Regions from separate parts of the Homo sapiens genome. Here region 1 is linked to region 2. The links are contacts of gene promoters, found by promoter capture Hi-C in blood cells and fetal thymus (Javierre and others, 2016). All regions are on one chromosome and are shown on one strand. The core of a region is centred on a gene start or on the middle of the fragment in contact, and the rest is flanking DNA. Distances in the headings are between cores, read along the strand shown.

The links. The method cuts DNA at HindIII sites, captures the fragments that hold promoters and counts their contacts. A CHiCAGO score of 5 or more calls a contact.
Region 1: a contact is called between a fragment that was not itself captured here and the fragment with the promoter of GARIN4 in region 2, in 1 of 17 cell types (M2 macrophages). The highest score is 6.2, in M2 macrophages.

Annotation. Positions count from the first base shown.
Region 1 is chr1:212,062,553-212,069,339 of GRCh38, reverse strand. DTL (denticleless E3 ubiquitin protein ligase adapter) reads right to left here. Exons shown (of 15, transcript NM_016448.4): 6 at 6,391-6,456; 7 at 4,311-4,423; 8 at 2,455-2,528; 9 at 1,013-1,116; 10 at 637-741. Among named protein-coding and RNA genes, the nearest start is that of MIR3122, 12 kb to the left of the region's middle. The HindIII fragment of the contact is 6,737 bases long and covers 1,676-6,787 here.
Region 2 is chr1:212,619,164-212,625,962 of GRCh38, reverse strand. It overlaps GARIN4 (golgi associated RAB2 interactor family member 4), which reads right to left and starts at 1,489. Exons shown (of 1, transcript NM_153606.4): 1 at 1-1,489. The coding sequence starts at 1,085. It overlaps ATF3 (activating transcription factor 3), which reads right to left. Exons shown (of 4, transcript NM_001674.4): 4 at 5,188-6,605. The coding sequence ends at 6,408. RefSeq lists an enhancer at 1-58 and a silencer at 4,042-4,336. The HindIII fragment of the contact is 9,349 bases long and covers 1-2,132 here.

The DNA of each region.
Region 1 (6,787 bases), core at 3,795-6,294, 560 kb after region 2:
GTAACCCAAATAACTCTCTTAAAGCATGCCTGAGGCTGGTGATTTGGAAGAGGGAGGGGAGAGGATTAAAAAAAAGAGGAAAGCATGCTTGAGAAACTTGGGTTTTCTTTTTAAAACTATCATTTATTTATTAGTTTTAAGTATCAGATTCTATTTTTAAAGTTTTGAGGAAAAAAAAAAGGTGAGGCTGGGGAAAACATCTAGAAATAAAAGGGCCTCTAACATTAAGGAGAAGGCTGAGATAGGCTGAAACTATTTTGGGGGTATGAAAATTTCAGCCCCCTAATTTTAACCAGCAGCCCCTAAAGAGGAAAAAAGCTGAGCAGAAGCACTTTATCTACTCCACAGCTTATTAAATAAAAAATTGAGAGAATTCTAAATATAGGCCAAAGGGCATAATTTCAGGAGATACTCTCTATTAAAATAAAGTCACCATGTAAAGCACAATTCAGCTAACTTATGAAATCATCACAAGGAATGTACACTTATGAAATTATCACTGGATGTAATCAAAGATGCCAAAGTCCTCATATGGCTTAATAAGTTCAGTTTAGAAGAAAGCCCATTAAATTATCATTACCAAAAAAAGCCCATAATGCTTTCCTGGTAAGAGAATTTGAATGACTAATATCTTACCTGGAGAAGTCTTCAACCCAGTCATATTAAACATGTAGATGTTATCGTCTGTGCAATTAGCAAATAAAGTAGAGCCAGTGGAATCCAAAATCAGACTTGAATATCCTGGAAAAAGGAAACTTAAGTTAGCACGTCCTGATGATGGTGAGTAGATCTGAGGTTAAAATGTAGAGACAAAAATAGATCATTTCATAAGAATCATCATCAGAATTCTTTGTCCCCAAAATATACACAAACCAAAAACATTCTTCTGAGTTTTTATCTTTTGAACTTCACATATTAGAATTTTTCATATCAATGTTACTGGAAATTAGCCTTTTTTTTTTTTTTTAAACAAAAACTCTTATCTCCCCCAAAAGACCTATTAAAGGCTTACCAAGTTTTCGAGTGCTGCTACCTGGGTACAGGAAAGACTTGGATGCTATGGGTTCTTGTCGATAAGCAGTATAATTCTTACGTAAATCCCATACTTTGATTATCCTAAAAACCAAGGCAAATAAATATTTTGTAGACCTTCTTCCAACCCCAAACAACTTCAACTACACTAAATGTGAAATGACTTTTAATCTAACTCCTCTGGCACATTAACTAGGTACAGTAAGGATATTTCATTGGGAAACAAATTAAAGTATCTTATACTGTTGTCTCCAATATCAGGCTTATAATTCTGACAGAACGGAAACAGATGTGATTTGACCCAGTGATGGGTTACTGGAGTTTACTCTAAGAGAACGGAAAAGGAAGATGAAGGTTGAGTGCCGATAGTAATTGTTCCATTGTTTTTAGAAAATACACTTCCTAAGCCTTTAATATTCTGCATATATTTTTGATATCATAAGTAGCAAGTTCTGTCCCTGTGGTTATATCTCCATACATAACTCTTTAAATAATCTAAACAAATTGTTCTGTGAAATAAAGTATTTTTTCATTTCATCTATTGAGATAATTGTCTTAATCCTCTACTTCTAGTATAAAGGTAACTTGAAAACACAGACCTGCTATGAAATGACAGTATTCTTGGAAACAAACAGAGCAAGCTTTCACAGTCATTCACAAGCAGAACTAATAACCTTTAGATAATCCTTCATTCCTGCCTGAGAATTTGGTTCAGAGGGTTTTAGTGCCCAGAGGACACAATGGAAATCCTAGTTTGGTAAGCCATCATCTTTTAAATTAAAAATTTTAAGAGAAGGATGCCTTGAGAGATATAATAGGAAGGAAACTTAAAAAGAAAGAGTCTCCATTTGCATAGAATTAATATTCTACAACACAATCAACAAGCATCACAGAGCAGACTTATTTGGAAGCCAAGAATTCAGACTAATCATGGATGACAGGTATGTGAAAGTCATTAGACCTTACTATCATCAATCTAGTTAGATTACTCCCAGAAATGTCAATTACATCCCCAGAATCAGATTTCTTCTTTTAGGATATTCTTAAACCTGAAAAAGACAAAACCCAAAGTAACAGAAATTTTACTCTTCAAAATGAGAATTAGTGACTAAATTATATTGCATAAGGCAAGCAAGCTACCCAGCCAGCTTCTTTTCTAAGATAGCAACAGCAGCTACCACTGCTCTTATGTGCTAGACAATGTGCTAAGCGTGACACATGTATTCTTTCATTTAATTATCCAGCAAGAGTCCTTCAACTAGGTATTTTCCAATGTGATCTATAGCTCCTTTCCTCAGTTGGGGTACTTGCTATGTTGACAGTTGAAAGCACACACATTCAATTATAATGAGACTATGTGACTGCCTCATCACAATCTCATAAAAAAGATCTCGTCGGAAGAAAAAAGAAATAGACTCTTACCCATCCACAGCTCCTGCTGAGACTAAGGTATTCTCGTCTTGAAAGAGGACCACAGTAACACTTTGCTGGAAATCCTGATAGCACAAGAAAAGAAGAAGATTCTATCTTGGGCATCATAATCTTTACCATCAAGGGAACAAGGTGCTAAAAAACGACTTTTCTCCCCAGACTGACTTAGATGAAGTCTTGTCTAATGATCTCGATCAGATATATATGCTGACCAAGAGGTAATTTTAGCAAGGATCATTAAGTTTTAGTATACAGTGTTAATATTTCAACTTATACTCAAAAAACAAACTGGTGACTAAAAGATTTTGCTCGTCTGAGCCTACTGCATCTACTTAGACTCAGCCCTACTAATATGCTGTGTGTATCCTTAGGAAACTTATTTAACTTTCTTGTGCCAGTTTAATCTCTAAAATGTTGCTGTCTACCTAGATTATCATATAGGAGTATCAAAAGAATTATGAATAAAAGATTATTTCATGCCCTGAAAAAGAGGCCCAGTGGAGTCGTACCTCCTAATTGCTATTACTTAACAAGTTATCTTGGCTCAGAACCAGATTAAATGTCTGAAATGCTACTCGTTTTAACTTCATATGGCCTCTACTATCTGCTTCCATTCATGCTTGTGTCCTGTTCACGGTGTATAGTTTTAAGTCTTAATGTCTTAGCAGTCATACTTCCCCCAAAATATTAACTTGTACCCTACACACCAGGAATATGAAAAAAAAATTACATTAAAGTGAGAAAAAGGGCAATTTTTTAAAGAAAAAGGATATATTATGGGCATTGTTTGAGCTCTGACTGTAAGTTATTAGAGTGGTACTATGTTCTACCCATGTGTTTCTCAATATATTTAACAATATTTTGTCAAATGCTTAAAAATAAGCTGGCCAGGCGTGGTGGCTCACATCGGTAATCCCAGCACTTTGGGAGGCTCACGAGGTCAGGAGATTGAGGCTATCCTGGCTAACACGGTGAAACCCCGTCTCTACTAAAAAAACAAAAAATTAGCTGGGCGTGGTGGTGGGCACCTGTAGTCCCAGCTACTTGGGAGGCTGAGGCAGGAGAATGGTGTGAACCTGGGAGGCGGTGCTTGCAGTGAGCCAAGATTGCGCCACTGCACTCCAGCCTGGGTGACAGAGCGAGACTCTGTCTCAAAACAAAAAACATATTTTTCTGTAGTTTGTATTACGAAAACAACAGGTATTCTTTCCCCTTAGAAAACTGCATCACAGTACTTAATATGCTTCTTCAAACTACTCCTCCCCCACTTTTCCTAATGAATTCCACTATACTATAGGGGTGTGTTTGTGTGTGTGTGTTTGTGTCTGTGTGTGTAGAGAGATTTTTAGGGATGAGTAAGGTGAATTTTCAACATGTGCCTCAGGCAACTCTGATGCACACAGTATTTGAAGTGATGGCTATCTCAATTACCCTGATTTGATCATTATACATAGTGTACCCCCCAAAATATGTAAAATTATGTTATCAATTTTTTAAAATGTAGATATTGAAATTGTAAAAAAAAAAACCACTTTCTGCTTAATGGCATGAGACAACATCTTATGTTTAATTCAATCTAATTCTTTAAAACCAAAATAAATTTAAAGATATTTATCAACGAGGCTACATATATTTTAATTCCATCAATAATATAGGTAAATGGCATTATAATTCAGAAGAACCAAAAATTAAAATTTGAGAACCACAAATGTAGGTACTGAATAAGCAATAAACCACTGATATCAAATGAGAATCATGAAGATTCTCATTCACTTAATCAATAGCCTCCCATTTATTCTATCCTACAGATAAGATCTGCACACATGTATACATCTGTAAAACCTTACCACAGAAGGAGCAAGTCCTTTTGAATTCTGTTTCTTCTTGGGTTTTGAAGGGGTTTGCTTGTCTGAGGTATTGTGAGCTCCACTGATTTGATTCACTTGCCTATAAAACCCATCTGAAAGATATTCCAAGGAAATTTAGGTTTCAGGATTCTTACATGCTGAATATAACATGTGTAAATAAAACTTCAATATTAAGTAATTTTTGACCAAGTTGGTGAAATTAGAAGCCAGCAGAGCCAGCTGCACTACATCTCCTGTGGTGAGACTATAATGTATAAAAAGGGAGAGATGTTTATAACAGCTTTAATAATTGCCAAAACTTGGAAACAACCAAGATGTCCTTCAGTAGGTGAATGGATAAACTTTGGTTCATCCAGACAATGGAATATTATTCAGCACTGGAAAGAAATGAGCTTGATAAAGCCATAAAATGACATGGAGGAAATGTGACTGGGGGAAGTAATAAGATCAGTGGTTGCCAGGGCTTAGAGGGAGGTAGGGATGAATAACTGGAGCACAGAGGATTTCTAGAGTAGTGAAACTATTGTGTATGATGCTACAATGGTGGACGCACGTCATTACACATTTGTCAATATCCACAGAATGTGTAATACTAAGAATATATAACACTGATGTAAATTATAAACTCTGAGTGACAGCATGTGTTGACATAGGTTAACTGATTATAACAAATGTACCACTCAGGCACAGGATGTTGTCAGTGGGGAAGTCTGTGTGTGGGCAGGGCAGGGGCTATATGGGAACTCTCTGTACTTTCTGCTCAGTTTTGCTGTGAACCTAAAACTGCTCTACAAAATAAGGTTTATTAAAATTTTTCTAAATAATTTTATTATTTATTTCAAAATAGCTAGAAGAATGGGAGGCTGAGGCAGGCAGATTGCCTGAGGTCAGGAGTTCCAGATCAGCCTGGCCAACATGGTGAAATCCTGTCTGTACTAAAAATACATAACTAGCTGGGAGTGGTGGCATGCACCTGTAATCCCAGCTACTTGAGAGGCTGAGGTAGGAGAATTACTTGAACCCAGGAGGCGGAGGTTGCAGCGAGATGAGATCACGCCACTGCACTCCAGCCTGGGTGACAGAGTGAGACTCCGTCTCCAAAAAAAAAAAAAACAAGAAACAAAAAACCAGAAGAGAAGAATTGTAATGTTCCCAACACAAAGAAAAGATAAATGTTTGAGGTGATGGATATCCCAATTATCCTGATTTGATCATTTCATGTTCTATATATGTATCAAGATATCACATATACCCCTGAAAATATGTAGAACTATGTTACCAATTTTTTAAAATGCAGACACAAAAAAAAATTTTAATAAATTAACTAAAAGTGAACAGTGAGATAATCATCGTCTGCTTAATAGCATCATGAGACAACCATGAGCTTATGTTTAATTCAATCTAATTCTTTAAAATCAGGCTGGGCCTGGTGACTCACGCCTGTAATTTCAGCACTTTGGGAGGCCAGGGTGGGCAGATCACTTGAGGTCAGGAGTTTGAGACCAGCCTGGCCAACATAGTGAAACCCCATTTCTATTAAAAAAATACAAAAATTAGCCAGGCATGGTGGCGGGTGGCTGTAATCCCAGCTACTCAGGAGGCTGAGCTAGAGGAATTGCTGGAACCCAGCGGGTGGGGAGTGCAGTGAGCCAAGTTCACGCCACTGCACTCCAGCCTGGGTGACAGAGACTCCATCTCAAAAAAAAAAAAAATAATAATAATAAAATAAAAAAAATTCTTAAAAACCAAAATAAAGACATTTACCAGTGAGGCTGCGTATTAATATTTTTAAGTCCATCAATAATGTGGGTAAATGGCATTATAATTCAGAAGACAATATGAGATAAATACATGAGTGTAATACTTGTAACAGTGACACTCATGTATTTATCACTCAGGACACTCAGTGAAGATCCTGAGATCTGGAACAGTGAGCAGAAATGGGAAATTATGAGTACATGCCCCCTGGTGGTAATCAGATGAAATCACTAACTCTTTCACTCAAAATTAAGTACAGGGTAATCCCAAATCTCTCAAAATTAAAATAGATCTAGATAACCTTTTTTGTTGCACCTGGTATCCCAGACCATAATGTTGCCATCTCTTCCACCCGTACAGAATACAGCTGTGGGGAAATAAACAGATTATTAAGAGGTTAACAAAACCAGTCAATGACACATATATTTCAGTTTACATTTTGTAGACTATCTATTATGTGCTAGGTACTGTATCTGTCACTGGAGATCAAACATTTAAAAATATATGGCTCAATAACAAATAGGAAAAAGGATTATGAAGAGCTTGAGATGCTAATGTTGAACCAAAACTTCATAGAATCACCCCTCTGTAAATTTTTTAAAACCCATATAAAATATATAGTACAGTTGTAATAAGAATAACAATCAAGAGTCAAAATACAGAGTGCTTCTTATTCTAAATGTTAGCTACTATCCCGC
Region 2 (6,799 bases), core at 240-2,739:
AGGCTCATGGATGCGCTGGAAACATGCTCTGAGGACTTGCCTGCAGCCCCTGCCACAGCCACCTTCGTGCTGTTTGGAGCCATGCTGGCAGTGCCTGCAAGGGCCATGTTGCCTTTGTTTCCTCCTGCACCGATGGTGGCCGCCCCAGCTATGGCTGCGCTCACCTGTCCAGGGGCAGAATTGGCTGCTGCCACACTCAAGGCACCTGCTACGGTGCCTGTTGCTGCCCCTGCAGCTGCCCCTGCTGCTGCTGCCTCTTTAATCCCCCCTGTTGCTGGCTCCTCAGCAAGTTCTGTAGATGTTTTGGGGATGGATGCATTGAGCACATTAGTGGGTTTGTTAAAGTCATTTTGGAGTCCCTCCCCTCCAGCATAAGCAGCAGAGGTGGCCCCACACACCTCAGAGACCATGTGGAGGCTTTGGATGCTGACCTGGTCCTGATCCCCCTTTCCTTGAAGGTTCACGGCTCCCAGGCTCCTCCTGTCTTCCTGAAACACAGGCATCCACATCATGTCTTCAGCTGGAATGCCACAGGTACTGCTGTTACTCTCCATGGGTGGCCGCAAGAGGTAAATTAGTTTTTCCCAATAGGCAAAGAGGTCATCCCGTGTGTCAAGAGCGGGACACAATTGCAGATAGCAAGATCTGCCAGTGGCGAACTTCAGGCGCAGCTGTTGTTTCTCATGGTCTTGAACAGAGATCCGTACAAACCTCAGGGGCAGAAGCCTGGTGAGCTCTAAGTTCTTTGCTGCCTTGCGTTTTTTTCTCTTGGTGGCCTGGCCATGTCCAGCATACTCTTCGCAGCCGGTGGCCGGTCGTGCCAGTAGCATGACATCTGGGAGTGGGAGGATGGGGCTGGTACGTGCAATGCCCATGGTCACCATACGGACACGGTTGTGCACATCAATCACTTCTCCCCTTTTGGTGATCTGGATAAAGTCGCTCTCAAATATCGGTGCATACTTGAATATATCGTACTCCCCCTTGTACAGTTGTCGCTGCAGTTTCCCCATGGTGGTGTTGAACATGCTCATGCTGGAGCCACTCTGGGCCGTATAATACGGCAGCAGAAAATCAGCATTCATGGTTGTCTTTCAGCACAACGGCAGCACTGGTGAGGCAGGTCTCTGGGTCTTCCTTGGCCTCGGTGGCAGATGAGGGACCAGTGGTGCTCCTGGGTCACAAAGATGTCTCTGCAGCTGGTCTCTCAATCCCACCCCACCCCACAGGCCCCCACTGTTGCCTCAGAGCCTCCCAGAGGCCGGGGTGGGGGTGGGAGCACGGATGATTGCTGTGGGGGGTGCTGTAGGGTGCCTGGACTCCAGACTCTTCCAAGACGTAGAGATGCAGGGTGGGCTCCAGAGAGGTTTTCTTCTGGACCTAACCCCCTGACCTCCACCTCTGATTTTTTTAATTACAGTTTGTAGTCTCTCTCCCTGAGAGAGACTACAAACTGTAGTCCTAGTGACAGGAAGTGACGACCCTCTCTGCCTAAACCCCCTGTGCAGCCATATTTATCTTCTGCTTCCCTTTGTGACCTGTTGCTGTCACATACCCCTTTGTTCTCATCCCCCAGGCCAGGGCCACAATGCCCTCACTAATACTCCATTGCCCCCATAGAGGACAGCCCCACCGTGCCAGGTACTCAAGTGGGTGCCAAAATAAAAATTTTTCAAATGAGAAAATGTGTGGTTGCTTCCCCTTCCTCACCCCAAATTCAAAAGATTCAGCAACTAGGCAGAGTCTACAGGAACGCAAGATGATGGGATAAATTTGAACCATTTGAGTACACGGTTTAAATTTTTTTTTAACCTAGAATTCGCAGTCTTGGTTCTTAGCCCACTCTTCCATAAAATCTCAGTTCATGCTGACAATGGAAATCTTTAGTAATAACCTCAACCTTTAATAATAACATGAGAGATTGCTTCTTCTAGGCGCCATACTATGTATCAAACTCCATTCCAGTTTGATACTATTGCAACGCTTCTCATCTTACAGGTAAAAAAAACCTGAAGTTGTGAAACATACCTGCATTTGTAGAACTCGTAGGCAGTGGAGGTATTATTTGAATACAGGTCTTGCTGCTTTTAAAATCTTCCTTCTGAACCACTACAGAACTTACAAAAAAAGCTTGGGCAAGCCAAATAAGTTGCATAATTAATTCTGTGTGTGTGTGTGTGTGTGTGTGTGTGTATGCATGCATGTTATGGAGAATCCAGGACAACCACTTCAGAAAGGGGCTGGGCTGAGTGGGGGATTAAATTATCCAAGGGGCCACCTCTATTTCTCCTCCATCATGTTTATACCAACATCCTGTGTCAGGGAGCCCAAATATTTTCTCAAGGCCCCCAGTGTTTGCCCCGTGCCTCTTCTTACCCCCTACCCTGTGAAATGCCGGGAGAAGAGGGTAGGATGGAAAGTGTGAGCTTACATTCCAGGAGCCTATCAAAGGCCCTCCTCTACTAACCTCTCTACTATGCAGAAGTACTTTGGAAGCCATTTACATCCATGGGGAACAGGTGCTACTATACCTCCTGCCTTGCCATGCCCACAGAGCGAGCCCAGGAATAAGTAATTTCCAAGCTGTTACCTGGAAGTCCTGAAAAGGAGCACCTGCTTCCAACTCTCTTTTCTCCCAGCTTGACATCAGGCCTGAAATCCTACCTTAGAGATTCAGTTCTTGAAGATAAAGGCTAGCTGTTTCTTAACATACACACACCTGTCTATCAACTGATGAATGGATAAACAAAAAGTATAGTATCCATACAACAGAATACTATTCAGCCATAAAGAGAAATAAGGTACTATTACATAATACGCTAGGCTGACACTTGAAAACATTATGCTAAGTGAAAGAAGCCAGCCGTATTGTGCGAAAGGCCACATATTGTATGATGCTATTTACATAAAATATCCAGCGCAGGCAAGTCCATAGAAACAGAAGACAGATTAGTGGTTGCCAGAGACTGGAAGGAAGGGGAATGAAGAGTGACTCCTTAATGGGTACAGGATTTCCTTTGGGGACAGTGAAAAAGTTCTGGAACTAGATAGTAATGGTTACACTGCATTGTGAATGTACTTAATGGCACTGAATTGTACACTTCAAAATAGTTACAATGGCAAATTTTTTGTATATCTTACCACGCACACACACACAAATGTATATACTCTTGTTTGAAATCATTGCTGTTGAAAACAAGCATAGGCTTCAGCTTTGGAAAGATCCACTGTGAGACCTCGAGCAAGTTACTGAGCTCTCCACTCCCTCATCTGTAAAATGGGGGTAGCAGTTGTTGTGAGGATTAAATGGGATAATACATGTGAAGTGTTTAGTGTATTGTCCTACGCAATAAATGTTAGCTTCTGTTAGCATTAGTCCTCAACAGTCCTTTTAACCTCAGTGTAAATTCCTCCCTGAAAGCAGTGTTTGATGAGACTGTGTTAAAATCTTCTGGAGTTAGAGCCACCATGAGAACACAGGATGCTCAGTGGGCAAATGGGACCTCCTTTCAGGCAGATTCTAATTGGAAACGCTGTTCACGCCACAAAGAAACAGTACATGAACCCAACCAGAGGTTACGGGACAGGGAAGAGAGGAGAAAGCTTGATATGGGTTGGAGTGTTGAGGGTTTATTCAAAGCCCATGGGGAGAAATTAGGATACAGATGGAAAATAGTATTTTAGTTAACAGAAAGTGGAAAGATTCCATTCCAGAACTCCTGTCCTGGGCCAGAACCCTTTAAAAGCTCTTGACTCTGAAACAGGTGTCAGGCCAGCTCTCAGGGAAAGCCAAAGGGGCAGGTGGAAGGCAAGAGAGAGGAGGGAGGGTGGCTTTCCACACCCTGGCAGTGTGACATCACCACTACCAACAGGAGACAGCTCAGTGCAGACACTGCCAAACCGGGTGCTTGATATTGGTGGTGGCCCCATCTAAGTTTATTCTCTCAGATCCCCCCACCTTCCCTTTCCTCTAAATGTGAAACAAAAGAAACTAAATGCCTTGATGGTAAATGCATAGTCATCATCCTTTTTAAAATTAAAGTATCAAAACATAAACTTGGCTACATAAAACAATTTTTAATGCATTTGTGATAGACCTTCATTTACACTTACCATACACATCAAGTTTTCTTGCCATAGCCACCATCCGCCCCCAACTTCCTTCCTCTCTAATCCATTGTTGTTCCTGGCAGCTTACAAATTGTCTTGCGTTTCATAATGGCTGGTGGCTGGTGCCTCTACCCATAACTAGAAGGTAAATGCAAGGGATGTTTTCCCCTCCACCAAGAAAAGGAACATAAATTATCCCCTGAAAGAAGTGCTGAATGGTATTAACATCAGATGGCTCTTGATGGATTAGGAAAGACCCCTGATGTGCAATTCAGAGAGTAAAATGAAGACACCTGTGTCTTAAGTGATCATTTAAAGGAAACATACATGAGGTCAAAGAAGTAGGCACAGAATTCATGTGTACGAATCTGACATTTAACGAAGACATTCTTCTCTGAAGAATGGCACCAGCGGCGAGTGGCCAGTTTTTATGTCTAGCCTGTGAATGTTATAGAGAAGCACAAAAAGCAAGGGGGCCTGGCTCTCTTGCAGGCCAAAGGAATCATACGCCCTGGAAATTCCAGGAAATTCAGTGGAATGTCTTTCTTTGAATTATCACACCCATGCTGTCTAAAATGGTTCTTTCTTCCTCCGGTACCCCTTCCCATTCTTTTCTGATATGTATTTGCAACAATGAGACACACGTTTAGACATGAAACAGATGTAACTCAAGTGAGTAACTCTCTGAGACGAGTTCTGTGGCAGAATGTTAGGGGTCAAAGGTTCAAGCTGAACAACAGGTGTATGTTTTAGGTGTTTGTACATTCAGAGAAAATAATTAAGGTATCTAGCAATTCAGTTGTACATCAAAATTCTAAACACCAAACTGTTGATCTAAAGGATATATTTGGTGCCATGTTTCAGGGTTTGTCAATGAAAAATTGAGCATCAGGTGCCCAAGACTGAGGAACAGGACTGAAAGCCAACTATCCCATCTAGTGATGCCCCAAAGAGCAAAGGATGACATCTGGAGAAGTTTAAAGCTAGGCACCCCCCATAATGGGGAGGGAAAGGCAGGGAATCGCTAGGTCTCAGCAACCGACAGATTTAAATGAACAGAAACCAGCACAACACATGTTTACCATGTCTTGGTTCCAATATTTATTATTCTGACAGGTTAGGAATACTAGGATAAATAAGTAATATTTTCTCTTACAGAAAATTGTAATGATACCATTGAGTACAATTAAACACTCTGAGAATTTCACAGAAACATCAGAATTTTAATAGACAGTAGCCAGCGTCCTTGTGGCCAGTGTGAGTGACTTCTCACAGCTGCAAACACCCTGGGCCAGATTTCTTAAAACAGCTACATGACAAAAACAATGCTATTGACATCCAATAATGCTAAAGCCTGGGTACCACCCAGGCTCCACTGACTGTGGTTTCCAAACATCTCTCCACTGACTGTGGTTTTCAACCACAAGGAAAGGAAAATGGAATATTCTTTGGCTCTTCCAGCCTAGACACAACTCCTGACCTAAGACATTGAGTGGAGAGTCCTAACCCTTTGGAAGTTGAACTTTCTGCTTTCTTCCTGTGACTTTGGAACTGAGTTTGCAACAGAGGACCTGCCATCATACTGCCCATGGATTTTGTGTTAACGCTGGGAGAATTCTGTCCTCCTCTTGCTGACAAGCTCTTCTGGCCACCTGAATATCTTGAGATACTGCACGTGGTGACAGCCCCGCCCCCCAAAACTCTTAGAAACCAGATCTGAGAAAAAGCATATAAAAGTCACATCAGTGTTGTGTGACACAAACATCGGAAGAGTACATTGCCTAGTTTTCTTGCACACACAATTTCTGGACATAACAGCATATTTGCTAGAAAGCACAACCCTGGCCGTTGCACAACTTCACTAAATGCTGTTCTCACTCCACATCCCCTACGAGTGACAATGGTAGCCACGGTGAAGGAGATGGCCCCATCCCTCCCACCCGAGGTACAGACACTGCTGCCTGAATCCTAACGGTGGGCATCCTGGTTTTTTGTAGAATCCAGATGAAAGGCGGGCAGGACACCAGCTGGGGGCCATCTGGAACATAAGAATGGCCAGTGTGTTAAGGCCTAAATCCTGGAGTTGAGGCAAAGATGCACTTGCCCTGGTCCAAGACCCACTCTGGGGCAGAATGGGAAGGGCCTGCTGAATCACTGCAGGCCCTCCCGCCTTGATGGTTCTCTGCTGCTGGGATTCTAGAGGTACACAGGAAGACAGCTCTCCAATGGCTTCAGGGTTTTGGGTATAAAATGAGGATTCAATGAGGACTCCCCAGTCGCCCCCATACCACGACTGCTTAGCTCTGCAATGTTCCTTCTTTTATCTGTTGGATAAAGAGGTTTCTCTCATCTTCTGGAGTCCTCCCATTCTGAGCCCGGACAATACACGTGGGCCGATGAAGGTTGAGCATGTATATCAAATGCTGCTTCTCGTTCTTGAGCTCCTCAATCTGAGCCTTCAGTTCAGCATTCACACTTTCCAGCTTCTCCGACTCCTGGGGGACAAGCAACAGAGGCATCAAGAAAGGAGCCAAGGGCCAGTGAGGAGGGGGTGGCCTGGGCTGCTGCCTGGATGCAGGGGTGTACCTGGGACACACCGGGGCTCATCAAGCTGCGAGAGGAAGATGGGAGATGGGAGAGCAGCACTGGGTTTAGGAAAATGCAGACCCTCTTCTTCAGAGAAACCCTG